Regions from separate parts of the Homo sapiens genome. Here all the other regions are linked to region 3. Evidence: promoter capture Hi-C in 16 types of primary human blood cells and fetal thymus (Javierre and others, 2016). All regions are on one chromosome and are shown on one strand. Each heading gives the region's core, a stretch centred on a gene start or on the middle of the fragment in contact. The rest is flanking DNA. Distances are from core to core; before and after follow the strand shown.

Region 1 (4,099 bases), core at 1,066-3,565, 740 kb after region 3:
CTGTACGTTCAACATGACCCATGGATCAAATTCCTATCTAGTTAATTTCTTCACATAATAGCCACATGCAACTTTGAACCTCCAATACCTTCCTCAGATCTTAAATGTTCTTTCTTCAGTTTCAAGAGGTGATCTGATAGTTAAGAAAAATCAATACTATTATCTCATTGTGGTTCTTTCTACTTTCTGAAAAAGAGGGTATTTTTCTCATTTCAAAGTATCCTGATCCCACTTGTCTGTGCCCTTTATTATTTTTTTTATTGAGACAGAGTCTCACTCTGTCACCCAGGCTGGAGTGCAGTGGCGCCATCTTGGCTCACTGCAACCTCCGCCTCCCGGGTTCAGGCGATTCTCCTGCCTCAGCCTCCTGAGTAGGTGGGATTATAGGCGCGCCAGGACGCCTGGCTGTTTTGTATTTTTAGTAGAGACAGGGTTTTGAGTGATCTGTCCACCTTAGCCTCCCAAAGTGCTGGGATTACAGGCATGAGCCACTGTGCCCCGCCAGTCTGTGCCTTTCTTACAGGCCTCCCTCAACCCTTCACTGCTCCATTATTTCAACAGCTACAATTACTTCCTTTCCGCTGGTTCCTTTCCTTCTACAGACTTTACTGAAAACTTCACAATCTATGAAAACTGCTTCCAGTTACAGTCTAGACAGTCTCTTTCCAAAGACTGAATTGAAAAAACAAATCCTGAAACCCTTACTTCCTTGTCACCCATTTTTCCTAACCCTAACTTGACCTTTGAAGGCCAGCAGTGACATTTTACTTCCTTAATAAAAACAAGCAATCTTTTTTTTGCATTTATACTTCATCTCTAAGTGACCAAAAGCTTCTTAAGGGCAAGATTTATGTCTTCTTTTCCTTTGTATCCTTAGTAACCAGTATGTTGTCTGGCATACAGTAGGCCCTCAAAAACATTTCATCTTAGACTTCAGAGTTCTCATACCAAGTCTGACTACTCCTCAGCCTTTTCTTAAAGTTTTTCAGGGGTCCACCAACGTCCCTGTGCTCCTTTCTCATTCTCTTAGGTTAGGAAACTCATCCATAACATAAACTATCCATTTTACATAAATGATCTCAAATTCCTAATTCTATCACCTCTATTAGAAAGCTGAACTCATGTTTCCAACTTCTGGACATTTTCACATGGATGTTTTAGTGAACTTCAAAATGATTCCATTTAAATTTACTCATAACTTGCCCCTACTACAAACTCCTCTGTTCCTTAGGTTCTAAGCCTTAGAGAAACCTGTGACTTTCTCTCAACCTTATACTGCTTCACCTATTTTCTGCACACACATGCTTTCTACTCCTTCCCATTCAAGTATGTTACTTTATTCCTAAACCACTGCAAAAACCTCCATTGGCCTTCCATTTTCTACTTCAAATTAAGTATGCCTTAAAATAAATTCTAATTGGGAATATACATGGAGACCTAAAATACAGAATGTGCATATCAGTTTAAGTTCCCATCCCCCTTCTTTCGGTATCATCTGGATAATGTTGTCCTCTGGCTCAAACTCTCAATGGCTTACCACTGCCAAGAGGATAACAGTTTACAGCTTAGCCTTCCTGATTAAAAGGGTTTCTCAGCCAGGCGCGGTGGCTCATGCCTGTAATTCCAGCCCTCTGGGAGGCTGAGGCAGGCAGATCACGAGGTCAAGAGATTGAGACCATCTTGGCCAACATGGTGAAATCCCGTCTCTACTAAAAATACAAAAACTAGCTGGGTATGGTGGCGCACGCCTGCAGTCCCAGCTATGTGGGAGCCTGAGGCAGGAGAATCGCTTGAATCCAGGAGGCAGAGGTTGCAGTGAGCCGAGATTGCACCACTGCACTCCAGCCTGACGACAGAGTGAGACTCTGTCTCAAAAAAAAAAAAAAAAAAAAAAAAAAAAAAAAAAAAAAGTCTGTAGTAATACAAGTAGATTTTTGTAATTGATGAAACATAGGTCATAAATTACAACAGTAAAGAAAATAATAATGTAATGACAGCATGGATTCATTACCTGTAGCCCAGCTCTCTGTGAGCGAGATACTGCCTTAGCCTTGGCCTTCCCACTGTCCTTTCCAGCTTTGCCTCCAGCCTAAATGCAAAAAAAAATTTTTTTGAATGAAAAGAGTTGAAAATACTACTTCAAAAATATTCTGGAAACAGAATTTTTTCTAGTTTTACTTTAGGTAGTTAACAATATGTAGGTGATCCCCTTCCTCATTTGTAAATATACATGGGATTCTATCACCTTTTATAATTTCTATCAAAGAAATCAAACCTTAAACACTTATTTAAAATATTTTTCTTTTTTCTTGAGATGGAGTCTAGCTCTGTTGCCCAGGCTGGAGTGCAGTGGTGCGACCTTGACTCACTGCAAACTCCACCTCCTGGGCTCAAGCGATTCTCCTGCCTCAGCCTCCTGAGTAGCTGAGATTACAGGCGCACACCACCACACATGGCTAATTTTTGTATTTTTAGTAGAGGTGGGTTTCACTATGTTGGCCAAGCTGGTCTTGAACTCCTGACCTCAAGTGATCCGCCCGCCTAGGCCTCCCAAAGTGCTGGGATTACAGGCATAAGCCACAGTGCCAGGCTGAAAAATATGAGATTTTTAAAAACAAACATATTTATCAATTTCCAGATTAAAGAATCTTGCAAGTCAATATAACTTTTATGCATACATGAAATATTTCACAATTTTTATCAATGTCAATGTAACATATATTACTTCCACAGAAATATTTAGAACTTAGCTCTCAGAAAAATAAAGCATGTTCCAAGAAAAAAAAAAAAAACCTCAAAAAATTAAACACAGAATTGTCATATAGTCTAGCAATTCCACTTCTAGGTATACACCTAAAAATTGAAAGCAAGGATTCAAACAAATACATGTATACCCACGTTCACAGAAGCATTATTCAGAATAGCCAAAAGGTAGAAACAATCTTGAGTGTCCAATGATGGATGAACAAAATGATATACATATAATGGAATAGTATTCAGCTTTAAAAAGGAAATTCTGACACAAGCTACAACATGAATGGGCCTTGAGGACATTATGCTAAGGAAAATAAGCCAGTTACAAAAAAGACAAATACTGTATGATTCTACTTATGAGGTCCCTAAAATAGTAAAGTTCATGGTCAGAAAGCAGATTTGTGGTTGCCAGGGGTAGCTGCCTCCTGGGTTCAAGTGATTCTCCTGCCTCAGCCTCCTAAGTAGCTGGTAGTATAGGTGCGCGCCACCATGCCCTGCTAATTTTTGTATTTTTAGTACCAACAAGGTTTCTGCATGTTGGCCAGGCTGGTCTTGAACTCCTGACCTCAAGTGATCTGCCTGTCTCATCCTCCCAAAGTACTGGGATTACAGGCGTGAGCCACTGCGCCTGGCCGAGTTATTGTTGAATGGGTAGAGTTTCCACTTGGGAAGATGAAAAAGTTCTAGAGGCAGAAGGCAGTGATGGTTGCACACTATAAATGTACTTAATGCCACTGAACTGTACGCTTTAAAAAAACCTATTTCTGCATGAAAAAGGCAAAGTATGTGCCAATGTAATGAGCTTTTAAGTAAATATGGGGTATTATAGAGTATATGTGTACACATGTATTTCTAGTAGGTGACACAATAAATTAGAAATGTTATTTGCCTCTCGGGAGGAAATACTAAAGGTCTGACTTAAGAAAACTAATTTTCTCTCATATATTTTGCTTTTACCATTTAAACAGATTATTTCTTTACTGTTAAAAAAAGAAATCAGTTTACAAGATTGGCTGTTTGAGGGGCTATTCTTTCAAAATAGATGGTAAGCTTTGAAATGGCATATCCCCTTTGTAGCTAACCCTTTCCTTAAAAATTTTTTAAAGCTAAAAATTACCCCTGTATACTTCCTCTAATTGCACGTCTAAGTGGATTAAGTGCGTGTCACCCAAGATAATATGGAAGAAAAACAGTAAAACCCTGGCAGGTATCAGAAACAGGAAAAATAAAAATCTAAGAACTAATTCATATTCACTCTCTTATATTAGGTAATTCAACAAGAGACTGATTTAAGTTTACCAGTAAGAACTGAGACGCTCTCTATTTCTACCAGAATGCCTCATAT
Region 2 (3,960 bases), core at 514-3,013, 890 kb after region 3:
AGCAGTAATCATAAGTAGGTGGCTGTTAGGACACTTTACAGCCAAGGTGTGACCTGGAGAGAAAGAAAAGATTGTTTTATGTTATAATTGTCTCATTGGTGTCTGTTACGAGAGACTGAATATACAAATAGACAATGGCTGGACCATTTGTACAACTAGAACTCTGACTGACAACCTGCAGAAACCTCCTCAGGAAACCAATTCGTTATCTACAGCAACCAGCCCAGGAAACAAGCCTGCTGTAAGTCATACTTGCAGGAAGCCAGGTGTTATCTCTAGTGACAATCCAGGAGTAACTTTTCTAACAGCCCCCAAAGCCTAGGACTTAATTAATAACTGGCACCCTATCTCTCACCAGATACAAAAATCAACTCAAAATGGATTAAAGACTTAAACATAAGACCTGAAACTACAAAACTACTAGAAGAAAACATAGGGGAAATGCTTCAAGACATTGAACGAGGCAAAGATTTTATGGCTAAAATTTCAAAAGCATAGGCAACAAAACCAAAAATAGACAAATGGGACTATATTAAGCGAAACTAAAAAGCTTCTGCACAGCAATGGAAACAATCAACTGAGTGAAAAGACAACCTTTAGAATGGGAGAAAATATTTGCAAACTATTCATGCGGCAAGGGACTAATATCCAGAATATACAAGGAACTCAAACAACTTGACAGCAAAAAACCACAAATAATCCATTAAAAAGTGGGCGAAGAATCTGAGTAGACATTTCTCAAAAGAAGATGTACAAAAAACAAATAGGTACATATAAAAAAATACTCAATATCATGAGTCATCAGGGAAATGCAAATCAAAACCACAATGAGATACCATTTCACCCCATTTAGAATGGTTATTATCAAAAAGGCAAAAAATAAGGGTGTTGGCGCACCTGCAGTCCCAGCTACTTAGGAGGCTGAGGTGGGAGGATCCATTGAGCCCAGGAGCCCAGCTCCTTAGCTCAAGCTGCGGTGAGCTAAGATCATGCCACTGCACTCCAGCCTGGGTAACAGAGGGAAGCCCTGTCTCTAAAAAAAAAAAAAAGACAAAAAATAAGGTTGAGCGTGGTGACTCAAGCCTATAATCCCAGCACTTTGGGAGGCTGAGGCGCGAGGATTGCTTGAGCCCAGGAATTTGAGAGCAGCCTGGGCAACATAGAGACCTCATCTCTACAAAAAGTAAAAAAATTAGCCAGGTGTGATAGCAGACACCTGTGGTTCCAGCTACTGGGGAGGCTGAGGTGGGAGGATCTCTTGAGTCTATGAGATCAAGGCTGTAGTGAGCAGTGATCATACCACTGCACTCCAGCCTGGGTGACAGAGTGAGACCTCATGTCAAAAAAAATTAGTATATATACACAATAGAATACTATTTGGCCATAGGAAAAAAAAATGAAAATGTCATTTGCAGCAACATAAATAGAGCTAGAGGTCACTATGTAAGCCTGTAATCCCAATACTTGGGAGGCTGAAGTGGGAGGATGGCTTGAACCTAGGAGTTGGAGACCAGCCTGGGCAACATAGTGACCTCATCCCTGTAAATTTTTTTTTAAACAAAAAAACAAAGACAAGTATTGCATTTACTCACTCATATGTGGGAGCTAAACAAATATTCATCTCATTGAGATAGAGACTGGGATGATAGCCACCAGAGGCTGGGAAGGGTGTGTGTTGGGGGAAAGTAGGGGGCTGAAGAGAGGTTGGTTAGCGTGTACAAACATACAGCTAAATAGAAGCAATAATTTCTCATGGGTGTGTGTGTGTGTGTGTGTGTGTGTGTGTGTGTGAGACAGATCTGGCTTGTTGCCCAGGCTGGAGTGCAGTGGTGCAATGACAGCTCACTGCAGCCTCGACCTCCTGGGCTCAAGGACCCCACTTCAGGCCCCTGAGTAGCTGGGACCACAGGTGCACACCACTATGCCCAGCTAATTTTTGTATTTTTTGTAGAAGAAGGATCTCACTATATTGCCCAGGCTGGTCTCCAATTCCTGGGTTCACGTGATCTTCCCAGCTTAGCCTCTCCAAGTGCTCGGATTACGGGTTTGAGCCACCACACCCAGCCTAAATTCTAATGTTCCATAGCAGAGTAAGATGACTATAGTTAATAACAATGTACTGTATATTTCAGAATAGCTAGGAGAGATCTGAAATGTCTCCAACACAAAGAAATAAGTGTTCAGGTGACGAATATCCTAAATACCCTGATTTTATTATTACACATCATATGCATGTATCAAAATATCACATGTATTTTGGCCGGGTGCAGTGGCTCATGCCTGTAATCTCAGCACTTTGGGAGGCTAAGGTGGACAGATCACATGAGGCCAGGAGTTCGAGACCAGCCTGGGCAACATGGTGAAACCCTGTCTCTACTAAAAATACAGAAATTAGCCGGGCGTGGTAGTGGGCACCTGTAATTCCAGCTACTCCGGAGGCAGGAGAATCGCTTGAAACTGGGGGGTGGATGTTGCAGTGAGCTGAGATTGCACCACTGCACTACAGCCTGGGCAATACAGAGTAAGACTCTGTCTCAAAAAAAAAAAAAAAAAAAAAATTAGCCTGGTGTGGTGGTGCATGCCTGTAATCCCAGCTACTTGGGAAGCTGAGGCAGGAGAATTGCTTGAACCTGGGAGGCAGAGGTTGCAGTGAGCTGAAATCATGCCACTGCACTCCAGCCTGGGTGACAGAGTGAGACTCTGCCTCACACACACACACAAATCACATGTACCTCATAAATATGTACAATTATTATGTGTTAGCTGGGTGCGATGGCTCATGCCTATAATCCCAGCACTTTGGGAGGCTGAGGAGGGAGGATTGCTTGAGCCTAGGAGTTTGAGACCAGCCTGGGCAACATAGTGTGACCTTGTCTCAACAAAAATATACTAAAATTAGCCAGGCTTGGTGATGCGTCCTTGTAGTCCCAGCTACTTGGGAGGCTGAGATGGGAGGATTGCTTGAGCCCAGGAGGTTGAAGCTTCAGTGAGCCATGACTGCATCACTGCACTCTAACCTGAAGGACAGAGTGAGACTTTATCTCTAAAAATACAAAAGAAACAAAAAATTATTTGTCAATTAAAAAAAAACTGGCAGCTTTCCTAGTTTTCGGTCCTGCTTCCAGCTTAGGAGCAACCAGAGAAAGACAAATATGTGCCCCTAACCAATCACTTGGGATGCCCTGCCCCTTGCTTCCCCAGGCCAACAGCCTCAAATGAGGACATCCCTGGAGGCTTCCCTTTTTTCACTATAAAGCTTACCCACTCCTCTGCCTGACATTGAGTCTCATCCAAATACAAATGATGGTGGCTGACTCCCTTGTTATAGCAAGCTAACAGCCTTTTTGCTTTTCTCATTTTATTGTCTTTATTCCCAGTTATCACCATCTGATCATTAGCCAGTGGACTTTTGCTTGAAGCATGAACCTGTGTATGCAAAGACAGGGCAAAGGTATTCTGATGGATAAGAACAGCCTGAGGAAGTCAGCACATCCAGAGTTAGGCTAAGAGAAGTTTTAGTAGTGTTGTTTACTGTATTATGGAGTGATAAATATGCATTTGTGGAAGACGGTGGAAGACTTTAAATATCAGGCCTTTGTTCTGTGAATGGTGGGAAAATAATGACAACCAGATGCGCTACATCATTTGCGTGTGTAAATGTGGCAAGCTGGATTATTGCAGAAGGCAGATTGAAAGGGTGTTTCCACTATCTCTGCTTTATCTTGCAGAGAATGGAATACTTATGCCTTTGGAGAGGTCTAGAGACCAAGTATTTCTTTTGAATATCAGTATAACATAGGCCCAGTCAGGAGACAGAAACACAGTAAAGAAAAGTTTAATATAAAGAATTATTAGGCCGGGCGCGGTGGCTCACGCCTGTAATCCCAGCACTTTGGGAGGCCGAGGTGGGCGGATCACCAGGTCAGGAGATCCAGACCATGGTGAAACCCCGTCTCTACT
Region 3 (4,110 bases), core at 823-3,322:
TCTCCATGAGAGCTTTTGCACATGTTTTTGTTGGTGACTCGCTGTGACTGAAGAAAAGCCTCCTTCTGTTCCTTTTTTGTTTTCTTATGGCTTCTATTTTCCCTGGCAGAGGATGTTGGACCCAAATCCAATCCATGTGTGAGTTGTTCCCAGGGAAGTGACGTGCCACGCTGCTTCACCCCAGCCTTGGGCCGCCGGGCTTGACATGCTCAACTGGGGCAACGGAGCAAATTCCCAGAACAAGTTTTGAGAAAGATGATTCAGAGCTTTGCAGAGGATGAGGAAAGGGGAGAGCTTGCGGATCCTTGCTGCCACCAGGACTGGCCTGGGGGCACGTGGCAGGCAGAGGCAGGCTCAGGTGCACAGGGAGCCTGGGTGTTGGGGCTCAGGGTCTGCTCTGAGCGCCCCAGTGGGCACAGCTCAGGTTGATCTCTGAGGGCAAATGATGAGAGCTAAAAGGCAGCAGTGTGAGTGCCAAGAATGTGTGCTAGGCACAGCACATGCATGATCCTGTATGAACGACAAGGAGAACAGGGACACAGGTGGACGGCACTGAGGCTACCTGCCGAGATGTGGTGCCTGGGAGGTAGAGCCAGAACCTGACACAGTCCCACTGCTTTTTCAAGGAGATGCAGTGAGAAAGCAAAGGCAGGGTCTTGGCAGGACCAGGTGTGAGAGGAGGCAAGGCCTCCTTGTGGTCCTGCTCCCAGGGGGTGGCATGTATCCCAGGCCCAGCAGCCTCCACTGTGGCCTCCCCGGCTGCTGCCTGCTCCAACTCACTCGGGGCTGCTCTGGGGACCCAGGTGCTTCCTGACCCACTTTTCCTCTTTCCTTTTGACCCCAGGTCCAAACTCTGCCCTGTCAATCATCCCAGGGGCTCCTAGGCTTCCCTACCTGACTACTTCACTGGGGCCAAACCCCGCAGACAATCGTGGCTTAGGGCTGTCTGCCTCTGCACTTGGCCCATGGACTACCTGTGAGCTTTCTCTTGTGTCCTCATTCCTTTAAGGGGGAATGTCCTCGGAGCTCTGTCCTTAGCTCCCCATTCCTCCAGTATGAGACAGGGACTAGGCTTGAGTCACGGGGGACTGTGCTGTGTCACGCCCTGCCATACTAATGGGACCACTCTGCCTGTTGATGGCCGTTGTAGGGCAGCCAACATTTGCCCTGGAGAAGCCTTATGGCAAACACCAGGCACCAAGGTGCACATCCCTGATGGATCCTGGGATCAGTTGACACTCAATCCACCTGCCTTCTGGGTCCTCTGGGCCCTCTGGGTCCATGTGGCAGCTGGAGGTATGGTAGACACTTTTTAAAAAATGAGTTCTGGTAAGAAGAAGGTGATAAATGGCTATTTGTCCACGTTGGGACCCGGAGGGGAGGGATGGCATGCCCTTACATGGGACTCCTACCCCCAGCGGGGCAGCTGGCCACTCTGAGGGCAGTTTTGCACCTGCCTCCTGGCTGGAAAGTGAGTTCCCACTGTGCTGTCCCTCCCTGGGGCCCAGCACGGGGCCCGGCCCCACACCGACCTGAAGAGGTTGGTAGGATGACTGAATGAATTGACGCTGGGATGCAGCAGGGCCCATGGGCAGAGGCTCCAGAGCCTGGGAAGGATGGGGTGGCCTTTCTGTGGCCCTCCGAATTGAGAGAGGTCTCAGAGGCCTGACACCACGGCTTTCCGTCCAGGGTTCCTGGTCACCCGCGGAGGGCTCAGAGCCCCGGTGGACTCGGGGTCCCGCCTTAAGGGGGGTGCCTAGGGCAGAAGGAGGAGGGATGTCGGCCCCCTCAGACCCGCACCCCAGGCCCTCCCCACCACCTTTCCTTCCCTCAGGCCCTCTGTCTTCCCAGTCGCCCCGCCCCCTGCCCCTCTGTCCTAGGCGCAAGTCTCCGGGCTTGGGACGCTCGCCGCCAGCGCCCGCCCGCCTGCCCCGCCCCTAGCCCCCCGCCCCCCGCCCCCCGCCCCCCCGCAGCCCCTCCGTCCACTCTCGGCTCCTCCTTCTCTTCCTCCTCCTCCTCCCCGGGGGTGGGGAGCCGGCTCCGGAAGCCCCGGCGCCCCCGCCCCGGGCCCCGCCAGCGCTTTGGAGACGGCTATCCGCGCGGGAGTGCGCCACGCGGGGCCGGAGCGCCTATTAGCCGCCAGGACCTCGGAGCGCCCCGACCACCCCTGAGCCCCTCTGGCTTCGGAGCCCCCCAGCACCCCTTCCCGGGTCCCCTCGCCCACCCTAATCCACTCTCCCTCCCTTTCCCGGATTCCCTCGCTCACCCCATCCTCTCTCCCGCCCCTTCCTGGATTCCCTCACCCGTCTCGATCCCCTCTCCGCCCTTTCCCAGAGACCCAGAGCCCCTGACCCCCCGCGCCCTCCCCGGAGCCCCCCGCGCGTGCCGCGGCCATGGCGGCCGTGCGCGGGGCGCCCCTGCTCAGCTGCCTCCTGGCGTTGCTGGCCCTGTGCCCTGGAGGGCGCCCGCAGACGGTGCTGACCGACGACGAGATCGAGGAGTTCCTCGAGGGCTTCCTGTCAGAGCTAGAACCTGAGCCCCGGGAGGACGACGTGGAGGCCCCGCCGCCTCCCGAGCCCACCCCGCGGGTCCGAAAAGCCCAGGCGGGGGGCAAGCCAGGGAAGCGGCCAGGGACGGCCGCAGAAGGTAAGAGCCCAGGGCAGGGCGGGGGTGTGGGGGGCTGGCATCTCAGGTGGGAACAGGGGGATTCGGTAGGGTCTGGCCACTCCCCAGTCTGCTAGGGGAGGAATGGCTGGCTTACTAATGCGCACGCGAGCCCAGATGCCTGGAGGGACCCTGTGCTAGGCCGAGGTCAGCGCTGGCGTGGAGGCACATCCAGCACCCGGGCGGCAGGGCCGCTTTTGGGGGCCGGTGGCTCTAGGGTTGGTGCTGTGGTTGTACGGGTCGCTTATCCCCATTCCTCCAGTACGCGACAGGTACTAGGCTTGAGCCACAGGGGACTGTGCTGTGTCACCCCCTGCCATACTAATGGGACCACTCTCCCTGTTGGTGGCACAGCTTCACGTCGTCCCTCCCTCCTGCCTTTGCCCTCCTACTCCAGGAGGTCTCACGTAGGTGAGAGAGTTTCAGGTGGTGGTGAGCACAGGGCTTCAGGTGGTGGTGAGCAATGGGTGGTCCTACATTAGTACAGGAAATTAGATGAGGTGATGCATCACTGAAGCATTTAACCCACGGCCTCTTGCATAATCAGTTGTCAGTAAATCTTAGCTGTTTTCATCGTGGCCCTCTGGAAGGTGGCAGAGGGTCTTGTGATCCCTGTCTCCCAGGAGATTCCAAGGCACCATCCAACATTCCTGATGTCAGCAGCCCCTCCCCTGCCACCCCAGCTCTAGATCTTTCCTGGCTGCTTCCCACACCCTGGGCTGCCTGTGCCCCTCCTGCCTCTGGCTCTCCTTCCAGGCTTGCTCTCCTGGCTCTGGGGCACCGCTCTAGCAGCCCTGCGTCCCCTGGCTGTCTGCATTTGGTAGCTTTCCTGTGTTTCTGCCAAACTTCCCTCATGCTCCCCACCTCTCATCAGGTTCTCAACAGCACTTGCAGCTCCTGCTTAGGGTCCTGGGAGGATTCCCATGGGGAATCCTCACAACCAGTCCCTGCTCCCTCTCCCAGACTCTGAAATGAGTGTGCAGCCACAAGCTCCCTACCTGTCTTTTCTGTCCTCTGTGTGATCCCTGAACCCCCCAGGACTCCCTATCCTTCCAATCAATTCCAAACCCCTTACTTCTCGAAAGGAGACCACTTCCTCTTCTTTGGGCTTCAATACTCAACCAAGTGTCCCTTTTCTTTGAAGCTTTTCTTGCCCCGTAGGAGACCAGGGGAAGGTCTTGGGCCCATGTCCCTTCCTTTGTATGGCAGTTGGCAGGGATGACCAGATGCTCCTCCAGGCCTGGATGGCTCAGTCACCTCTCTGCCCCTTCTGTGCCCAGAACAGAATAGTGGAGGAGTGGATAGTAAGGAACCCCTATTGAGGTTTTGGCAGGTGGGGGGATGAGGGCCTCCCCCTGGGAACTGGGAACCCTACGCTCAGTCTTTAGAGAGGTTGAGATTGGTGGTCACAGCCCCAGACTTGCAGACAGAAAATCTGGGTCCGGA

Evidence for each region. Contacts are between HindIII fragments. The CHiCAGO score rates a contact against its expected background, and 5 or more counts as called.
Region 1: a fragment that was not itself captured here is called in contact with the fragment with the promoter of AEBP1 in region 3 in 1 of 17 cell types (fetal thymus); the score reaches 6.7 in fetal thymus.
Region 2: a contact is called between a fragment that was not itself captured here and the fragment with the promoter of AEBP1 in region 3, in 1 of 17 cell types (fetal thymus). The highest score is 7.6, in fetal thymus.

Annotation. Positions count from the first base shown.
Region 1 is chr7:44,841,266-44,845,364 of GRCh38, forward strand. It overlaps H2AZ2 (H2A.Z variant histone 2), which reads right to left. Exons shown (of 5, transcript NM_012412.5): 2 at 2,012-2,089. Among named protein-coding and RNA genes, the nearest start is that of H2AZ2, 4.8 kb to the right of the region's middle. The HindIII fragment of the contact is 2,973 bases long and covers 830-3,802 here.
Region 2 is chr7:44,995,092-44,999,051 of GRCh38, forward strand. It overlaps LOC102723334 (a long non-coding RNA gene), which reads right to left. Exons shown (of 4, transcript XR_428139.4): 3 at 1-53. Among named protein-coding and RNA genes, the nearest start is that of CCM2, 3.1 kb to the right of the region's middle. RefSeq lists enhancers at 1-18, 59-118, 139-188. The HindIII fragment of the contact is 2,431 bases long and covers 549-2,979 here.
Region 3 is chr7:44,102,273-44,106,382 of GRCh38, forward strand. It overlaps AEBP1 (AE binding protein 1), which reads left to right and starts at 2,073. Exons shown (of 21, transcript NM_001129.5): 1 at 2,073-2,646. The coding sequence starts at 2,394. The HindIII fragment of the contact is 6,426 bases long and covers 1-3,806 here.